Linked DNA regions of Homo sapiens: region 1 is linked to region 2. Evidence: promoter capture Hi-C in human tissues and cell types (Jung and others, 2019). All regions are on one chromosome and are shown on one strand. The core of a region is centred on a gene start or on the middle of the fragment in contact, and the rest is flanking DNA. Distances in the headings are between cores, read along the strand shown. Region 1 holds the start of TMEM240 (transmembrane protein 240). Region 2 overlaps GNB1 (G protein subunit beta 1).

The links. Contacts are between HindIII fragments. The study calls those that stand out against the background at their distance.
Region 1: a contact is called between the fragment with the promoter of TMEM240 here and a fragment that was not itself captured in region 2, in 2 of the 25 tissues and cell types used here (dorsolateral prefrontal cortex and heart right ventricle).

The regions. Positions count from the first base shown.
Region 1 is chr1:1,539,091-1,543,774 of GRCh38, forward strand. It overlaps TMEM240 (transmembrane protein 240), which reads right to left and starts at 1,534. Exons shown (of 4, transcript NM_001114748.2): 1 at 1,200-1,534; 2 at 594-700. The coding sequence starts at 1,256. It overlaps SSU72 (SSU72 homolog, RNA polymerase II CTD phosphatase), which reads right to left. Exons shown (of 5, transcript NM_014188.3): 5 at 2,583-3,077. The coding sequence ends at 2,976. RefSeq lists a silencer at 119-413. The HindIII fragment of the contact is 20,414 bases long and covers 1-4,684 here.
Region 2 is chr1:1,883,563-1,888,011 of GRCh38, forward strand. The region is part of intron 1 of GNB1 (G protein subunit beta 1); the gene reads right to left. Among named protein-coding and RNA genes, the nearest start is that of GNB1, 5.3 kb to the right of the region's middle. The HindIII fragment of the contact is 4,669 bases long and covers 1-4,359 here.

The DNA of each region.
Region 1 (4,684 bases), core at 284-2,783, 340 kb before region 2:
ACAAACATGCATGGCCAAGAGGATCCCATCGCTACACGTGCACAGAGGGGGTCACACGGTGGGTGCGGGGGGTCTGGGCGCTCCCCTCAATCTGAATGACCTTGAGGAAGCTCCACCTCCCCGCTGCCCCCCCAGCCCATCCCTCAGCTCCTCTCCAGCCCGGGGGTGGTGCCCAGTGCCCCTCAAGGCAGGCCCTTCCCGCCTTGACCTGCATTCCCCTGCCCAGGGACTCAGTGCAGGGCCCAGCCCTGTGCCAGCAGGCGCTTCCTGCCCCAGCCCTGATGAGGCTGGCTTGGGTCTCCACTGTGGACATCACACTGGGCTGCGGCTTTCCGGCCTCCAGGCTGGACCAGGAGGCCCCGTGACCCATTCCGCCATCACCCTGGAGGCCTCTAGGAACGGCGTCCTAAAGCCATGCGCCCCCAGGAGACCCCCGCCCACCTTGAGACAGCTCCTCCCCCTGCGCACCTGGCAGCCCTCAAGGGTGGAAGGCGGCTCGCGGCCTGCGTGGGGCTGGTTCCCCCGCGCCCCGAGTGGGCCCCGCCACACATGTGCGCTCACGCGTGTCGAGCCGGCGCCGGTTGTGGACTCACCGGCCACAGTTGCAGTGGCAGACGCGGTCCTCGCCCCGCAGGTGCGGGAGGATGTAGTTGTGGAATCGGTCCAGCAGCGCGTTCATGTCCATCAAGCACGCGATGGCCTGGAAGAGCTCATGACCGGTCAGCGCCAAGGAGCGGGCGGGACGAAGCGGGGCTGGGGGTGGGGAGCGCAGGCCGGGGTCGGGGCAGCGCAAGCGGGGAGCGAGAGCGCAGGCCGGGGTGAGGGGAGCGTAGGCCTTGGTAGGGGGAGCGCAGCGGGTATGGGGATCGCAGGCTGGGGAGGGGAGCGCAGGCCGGGGTGGGGGGAGCGCAGGCCCGGGAGGGGACCGCGGGCCGGGGAGGGGGAAGCGCAGGCCGGGGTGGGGGGAGCGTAGGCCGGAGAGAGGAGCGTAGGGAGTGTGGGGATCGCAGGTTGGGGAGGGGAGCGGAGGCCGGGGTGGGGGAGCGCAGGCCGGGGAGGGGAGCGCAGGCCGGGGAGGGGAGCGCAGGCCGGGGAGGGGAGCGCAGGCCGCACGGGCGGTAAACAAGGCGCGGGAGGTGGGCCAGGCGGCGCGCGCGGGCGGGGAGCAGGGGGCGCGCGCGGGAAGCCCCTCCGCTCACCATCACGACCGACGCCCCCAGAATCATGAAGATCATGGTGTTCGCGCTCATGGACATCGGGCGGGGCCGGGCCGGGCCGGAGCGCCGCCCCCCGGCCCCGGCGCCCCCCCGGCCCCGGCCCGATGCTGAGCCCCCGCCGCCTCCGCAGAGGTCAGCGCTTCCCTGGATCGTCCGCCGCCGCTCGCTGCAACCCCGGCACCGGCCGGGGGGAGGAGGCGCGGGGGGGGGGGCGCCGGGGAGGGACGCGGGGCCTTTCTGGGGTCTCTCGGCCCGGCCCGCCGCGCTCCGCTCCGCCCTCGGGTCCTCCCTGCGATGCGCTCGGCTCGGCTCGACTCGGCTCCGCTCGGCTCCGGCCCCCTCCCTGCCTCCTCCTCCCTCCTCCCCCCTCCCTCCCCGCCGCCTTCCTCCGCCTCTCGGGAGGGACCGCGCAGACCGCAGGCCGCCCCGTGCCAGCGCCGGGAGGAGACCGCCATCCCCCGGACGCCGGCCGGGACCCCTCCCCGGGAGCCTCGGCTTCGCGTCCCGCCCCAGTCTGGTCAGACCCAGCCCCGGTGGCCTGTCCGGTGACCCTGGACGCCAGTCCTCCGGTCCTGGAGGGGCGCCGAGGCCCTTCCCGCCCCACTGCTCCGCCCTACGTCCTGGACTCCCAGGTCGCCGGGTGCGGGACTGCCCCAGTCCGCTCGGCACGCACGTGCCTCCAGGGTGGGGTCCGCAAGGTCGCGACAGCCCCACGGCCGTGGGGGCCACAGGTCAGGGACGGGATGACCCCTGGAATCCTCAACGGAGGGATGTGGCACAGGAGCCGAGGGCAGGGCCGCCCCGCACAGGCTTCCCTTAGGGCGGGGACGAGGGGGTCAGCCCAGGCCCATGGGTCGGGACGCCGGCCATTCAGAGGCCCAGTGGCCACCACTCCGCTGTGGCTGTCCCTGGCTCGGGGTCCTGAGGCCAAACTCTCATCCACGACCGGTGACCATGTCTCAGGCCCGGGAGCCGACCCCCGGCCTCAGCAGGAAGTCAGCGGGAAGCTATGCCTGGGACCCAGCCTGGGTCGTGGCGCCATCCAGGCTCACTGCAGCCTCCACTCCTGGGCTCAGGCGATCCTCCCGGCTCAGCCTCCCCCGTAGCTGGCCTTGGGGGATCCCCGCCCGGGGGGGTTCCACATGGAGAGGGGACGCCGCTCCACCACAGGCAGCAGTTGTGGCAGGAGCAGGCGGCTTCCGCTTCAGGCAGCACAGGCACGGGTAGGCCCAGACCCTGTCAGCACCACCAGGTCTGAGCTACTCCTCCCAAGCAGTGGTCGGAGGTCACTGAGGGCGGCAGGGCTAGGCCTCTGCCACCTCCTCAGGGGCGAGGGTCGGGCCAGGAATTCAGGACCAGGCACAATGACAGCAGCATCTGTTTATTGACAATTCCAGGTCATTCCTAACACGCCGCAGCAGGGCTCTGTACAGTCCGGCCCGGTGGGGAGGAGGGAGGGAAGGCAGGCACACGAAGACACAGGTATGTCGGGAAGTGCACACAAACCGTTGTCTTTCCTTTTTGGTTAAAGAAGAAAAACTTTGTAATCAATATCCTGCTCATAAGTAAAAGTGGAAAAGAAGAAACTTGATTGCTTTCATCTGGCGTTTTGGCATCTCCTCTCCCATTTCATATGCACAGTTTATTTGGGTAATGCTACCGTCACCAGCAGAACACCTGTAAGTAAAAACAAATGTCAGGAAGGAAAAAGTATGAACAACAGGAAGCTCCAGAGGCGGCTCCATGCGGGCGCTGGGCTCAGTAGAAGCAGACGGTGTGCAGAAAGGTGCGGCCACTCTTCTCCTCGAACTCCTGCAGCAGCTCGTCGATCTCGTTCTCCATGTCTTCCGTGTGCTGGATCTGCAAGGACAGGACCGTGGTGAGGGCCTTGCCCACTCCTGCCTGTCTGCTCCCCCTAACACCTGGATCGCCAGGGAAACGCCAGGCCTGAGCCAGCAGAAACCAGCGCAGCAGGCAGGCCCTCACCCCACCGCTGCTGCCTCACAAGGACGGCCGGAGGCTGCAGGGGGAGAGCGTCCCGGGCAGCCCCCACCTCCCCACCGACCCTCACAGGACCTGAAGCTGGGAGGAGCTGGGAGGAGCCTGGAGCTGGATTCTGAGAGGGGCCCAGCACGGAGACCTGGCGGCCAGGGCTCAGACCCACACATGCACAGCGGGGCCGACCAACCCTCACCGCCAGCGCTTCCACACCACCAACAAGCGAGCGGGGGCAGCCTGGTCATCGGAGCATCCTGGCCTCCATCCACCAGAGCCCCTGGCAGAGGGCCGCTGCCCCAGAGTGAGCAGGCCCGGCTCCTAGGCACACCTGCCCTGGCACCGGCAGCTCGTTACTCGCCATCTCCACTGTCCCCTGGTCCCCAGCCTTGGCCAGCACCCAGTGCCTCTAAGCAAGGAGCGGCCTGTCTGTGACTCAGCTCTGGCCAACGTGACCCAAGCAGAAATCGTGCAATAACTTCTGGGACGACATTTTCTTATGACCTTTTCTCCTGCCAGGCGATCATGAAGACCGTCCCTGGCGCTTCAGCAGCCACACTGGACCGTGAGGCACGTGGGGACCAGAAGCCATGCTGGGTGGGCCAGGCGGAGCGCAGGAGCCTCTGCGGCCACACAGCAGCTTCTCCCAGCGCCCGCCCGCCTGGCTCCCGGGCTTTCCAAACACACCATCTTCTTTCTTGGTGAAGCTGTTCTGTTTTTCTGTCTTTCACAGACATTCATCAAATCACAGAGGCAGAGGCAGAGGCAGAGGCGGGACGGTGCGTGGGGCTCTCCTCAGGCAGGTCCTTTCGTCACAGCCCAGCACCTCCACGCCGCAGCAGGGTGGCTACAGAAGCCTTGGGGTGCCCCGGCCCCTCTGTGCAAGGGAGACATGCAGGGCCCACTGGGGAAGGCAGGTGTGCAGAAGGCCAAGTCCAGGGGTGGACGGCGGACACAGAGCCCTTGGCAGCCTCCAGGCTCACGTGGGGCACACCTCCGACTGCACCGCATCCCGGAGAGCTGCATGCTCTGCTCACTGAGGTGGGGCTGTGTCCGCCACGGGGAAGAGACAAGGTACCAGGCGTTCCCTGGAGCCGTGTCCTGGGAGAGGGACTAAGCCTGTGTTGGGGAGGTCCCTGTGCAGCGTCTCTCAGCTGAGCAAAGGGCATTGCAGGGGGGCCTCCTGTGCCAAAGCTGTGGAGTGACTCACTGAACTACCAGCAGGCGCCCCCGACACAGGCGAGCTGAGCAGACCTTGCCCCAAGCAGCAGGGCCGGCCTCAGGTCTCGGCCACTCCCCTCTGTCACGGCCTCGGCCACTCCCCACTGTCACGGCCTCGGCCACTCCCCTCTGTCACGGCCTCGGCCACTCCCCACTGTCACGGCCTCGGCCACTCCCCACTGTCACGGCCTCGGCCACTCCCCTGTCACGGCCTCGGCCACTCCCCTCTGTCACGGCCTCGGCCACCCCCT
Region 2 (4,449 bases), core at 775-3,274:
TTATCAGTGCCCACATCAGGACTCATTTAATCCTCACAATGACCCCATGAAGGAGGCTCTAGGAGCCTGTTTCACAGATAAGGACAGACACAGAAGTCCTAACACTGCAGGTGGCCTAAATTAAGGCAGGCTCAGGGAGGACAGAAAGCTCCTGTGGAGTGGAAGGGTAGAAGTTGAACTGATCTTGATTTTCAGTGCGAATAAAAGTCCTAACACTGCAAATCAGCCAGTGAGGCAACAGAGCTGAGCTGGGCTCTAACTCAGACAGTGCCAATCCTTTTGAAAACTACTGAATTTCTCTCACTCCCTAGATTTTAGGAATTATTTTAAAATTCCTATGAGAAATTTTCTGAAACCTATTGTAGACTCTTTTGACATGCTCATCTAATTATAAAGTGTCCGGACTTTTTTTTTTTTTTTTTGACCGAGTTTCACTCTTGTTGCCCAGGCTGCAGTACAATGGCACAATCTCGGCTCACCGCAACCTCCGCCTCCCAGGTTCAAGCGATTCTCTTGCCTCTGCCTCCCGAGTAGCTGAGATTACAGGCATGTGCCACCATGCCCGACTAATTTTTTTTTTTTTTTTGAGATGGAGTTTCCTTCTTGTTGCCCAGGCTGGAGTGCAATGGCACGATCTCGGCTCACTGCAACCTCAGCCTCCCGAGTAGCTGGAATTACAGGCATGCATCACCATGCCTGGGTAATTTTTTGTATTTTTAGTAGAGATGGGGTTTCTCCATGTTGGCCAGGCTGATCCACCCTCCTCGGCCTCCCAAAGTGCTGGAATTACAGGCGTGAGCCACCGCGTCTGGGCTAATTTTGTATTTTCAGTAGAGACAGGGTTTCTCCATGTTGGTCAGGCTGGTCTTGAACTCCCAACCTCAGGTGATCCGCTCACCTTGGCCTCCCAAAGTGTTGGGTTTACAGGCATGAGCCACCACACCCAGCCCAGAATTTTTTAAGCTTTATTAACTACAACACTCGGCAGAAGTTGAGTGTCTGTAATCAACATAGGGAATATATTTTCTAAGTGCTACAGGACTGCACACAGACATGCATGGAGACATGATTACCCACCAGTAAACAAGAATACATTCCACTGATGCCCTTAGTATTCCCATTCTTTTTTTTTTTTTGAGAGACGGAGTCTTGCTCTGTCGCCCAGGCTGGAGTGCAGTGGCGCGATCTCCACTCACTGCGAGGTCTGCCTCCCGGGTTCACACCATTCTCCTGCCTCAGCCTCCCAAGTAGCTGGGACTACAGGTGCCTGCCACCACGCCCGGCTAATTTTTTTGTATTTTTAGCAGAGACAGGGTTTCACTGTGTTAGCCAGGTTGGTCTCGATCTCCTGACATCGTGATCTGCCCGCCTGGGCCTCCCAAAGTGCTGGGATTACAGGCATGAGCCACCGTGCCCGGCCAGTATTCCAATTCTAACAGGTGAATGAATTAATACATAAAGTCCTCTCTTGATATAATGCATTAGTAAGTTTGGAGCAATGAATTATTAAATCATAAAAATATTTTATCTATGGCAAAATAGGTTCAACAGAATAAACTTAAAAATTAAGCTGGGCACGGTGGCTCACACCTGTAATCCCAGCACTTTGGGAGGCGGAGGCGGGCGGATCACTTGAGGTCAGCAGTTTGAGACCAGCCTGGCCAACATGGTGAAACCCCATCTCTACTAAAACTACAAAAATTAGCCAGGCATGGTGGCGGGCACCTGTAATCTCAGCTACTTGGGAGGCTGAGGCAGGAGAATCACTTGAACCCGGGAGGCAGAAGTTGCAGTGAGCCAGGACAGCGCCATTGCACTCCAGCCTGGGCAACAGGAAGGAAACTCCATCTCAAAAAAAAAAGAAAGAAAAAAGGAATTACCTTAGATAATCTTAATCTGGTCTTTTAAATCAGTAAGCTTTTAAAAAATGGGTCTTTCTCAGAATTCTAATTTAAGAAGACATAAATAAGGAAATACTTCCACTTAATCTTTTTTTTTTTTTTTTTTTTTGTGAAACGGAGTCTCGCTCAGTCACCCAGGCTGGAGTGCAGTAGCACGATCTCGGCTCACTGCAAGCTCCGCCTCCCGGGTTCACGCCATTCTCCTGCCTCAGCCTCCCAAGTAGCTGGGACTACAGGCGCCCGCCACCACACCCAGCTAATTTTTTTGGTATTTTTAGTAGCAATGGGGTTTCACCGTGTTAGCCAGGATGGTCTCAATCTCCTGACCTCGTGATCCGCCCACGTCGGCCTCCCAAAGTGCTGGGATTACAGGCGTGAGCCACCGTGCCCGGCCCACTTAATCTTAAAAAAAAAAAAAAGCAAGCAAGCAACATTGCTCTATAAAACAGAAAGCTTTTCTACCACTGAAAGCCAGGAGTAATTTCCACTGATTACCATGGCACCCAATGGTAGGCACTGACACAAGAACAAGAGGCTAAAAGGTTTAAAAAAGCTTTCAGCATTCCGGCAGGGCACGGTGGCTCACGCCTGTAATCCTAGAACTTTGGGAGGCTCAGACAGGCAGATCACCGGAGGTCAGGAGTTCAAGACCAGCCTGGCCAACATGGTGAAACCCCATCTCTACTAAAATAAAATTTTAAAAAATTATCCGGGCATGACGGCGGGTGCCTGTAATCCCAGCTACTCGGGAGGCTGAGACTGGAGAATCACTTGAACCCGTGAGATGGTGGTTGCAGTGAGCCGAGATTGCGCCACTGCACTCCAGACTGGGTGGCTGAGTGGGACTCTGTCTCACAAAAAAAGCTTTCAGCATTCCACTAATCCACTAGCAAACTCAAATGTCTATAGATTGTCTCTATTTCTTCAATCAAAGTTCTAGAACAAAATGCATAGCTTTGAAATAGGTGGTGCTCTGTCCCTCTCCCAGAGCAGCTGATGTGATGTTGCATTTCTCTCTCTTCATACACACTCACTCCCATATACGTTGGCCCTGCTTTTTCTTTCAGTAATGTTGAACACTGCAGTTTCATAAATTTCTGATAGTTTCCATTTTAAATTTATTTTATCTCCTCATTCTGTGTTCCTAAACCAAACACTTAACTGAATTGCCTACTTCATAATCTCTCCAACCACTCTTAACAAATGCAAACCTGAAATCAGAATGTAAACCAGTTTAAAATTTTTTTTATTTTTATTTTTTGAGACGGAGTCTCGCTGTGTCGCCCAGGCTGGAGTGCAGTGGCCGATCTTGGCTCACTGCAAGCTCCCCCTCCCGGGTTCCTGCCATTCTCCTGCCTCAGCCTCCTGAGTAGCTGGGATTACAGGTGCCCAGCACCACGCCCAGCTAATTTTTTGTAGAGAAGTAATTTTAGTAGAGAAGGGGTTTCACCGTGTTAGCCAGGGTGGTCTCGATCTCCTGACCTCATGATCCGCCTGACTCGGCCTCCCAAAGTGCTGGGATTACAGGTGTGAGCCACCACGCCCGGTCAAACCAGTTTAAAATTTTATAAAAATTTTTGTTCCATGTCTTGTGAGACTTACACTAAATAGGGGTTTCAAAATAACATGGCCTGCCATATGGTCAAGCCAGATTTAAAAATTGAGAATATCTATTACCAATCCACTAATGCTAAAGCCAAAGTCACAGACAGTAAGAATGTAATCCAATTTAGAGACCAACATGAGCCAAATCTTTCGGGCAGAGAAAAACAACGACAAAACTATAATAAATGCCAACACTGCACTTCTAAAATAATACCAATGTTATTCATTAAAGTATTAGCTACAAAAAGTCAACTGATGGTAGATGAAGTCTAGAGATGCCCTGAAGACCTTTTTCATCCTTTTATCAAAGCTGTTTTTAGCTACAAAGCTACAACTTTTCCAGTGGACCAACACACACATAAAATAAACCAAAAGACCCAGAAATTTTTAGCAAAGCAAAGGGAAGAGAACAAAGCTCTGGTACTTTTGCAGGATAGTACAACATCTCCTTTGAGAAATAAATTAACTTTTCAAATTCTGTTTCTCAAGTGATCAACATAAATCTACCTAGATGATACTAGCTTTGAAATCAAAGTCATTGGGCATCAAAAGGATTTACAGAGGTTTTTACTCTTTTGAGACACAGTCTCACTCTGTCGCCCAGTGGCACAATCTCGGCTCACCGCAACCCCTGCCTCCCGGGTTCAAGCGATTCCCGTGCCTAAACCTCCCGAGTAGCTGGGATTACAGGCGCCCACCACCACGCCGGCTAATTTTAATATTTTTAGTAGATACGAGGTTTCGCTATGTTGGCCAGACTGGTCTCAAACTCCCAGCCTCATGTGATCCGCCCGCCTCCACCTCCCAAAGTGCTGGGATTACAGGCGTGAGCCACCACACCCAGTGGGTTTTACTCTTAAAAACAAACAATAAAAAAACCACACACTATTCTGCAGTCTCTTGAATCTTCTAAGATTAAAATTAAATCTGAGAAAATTTACTT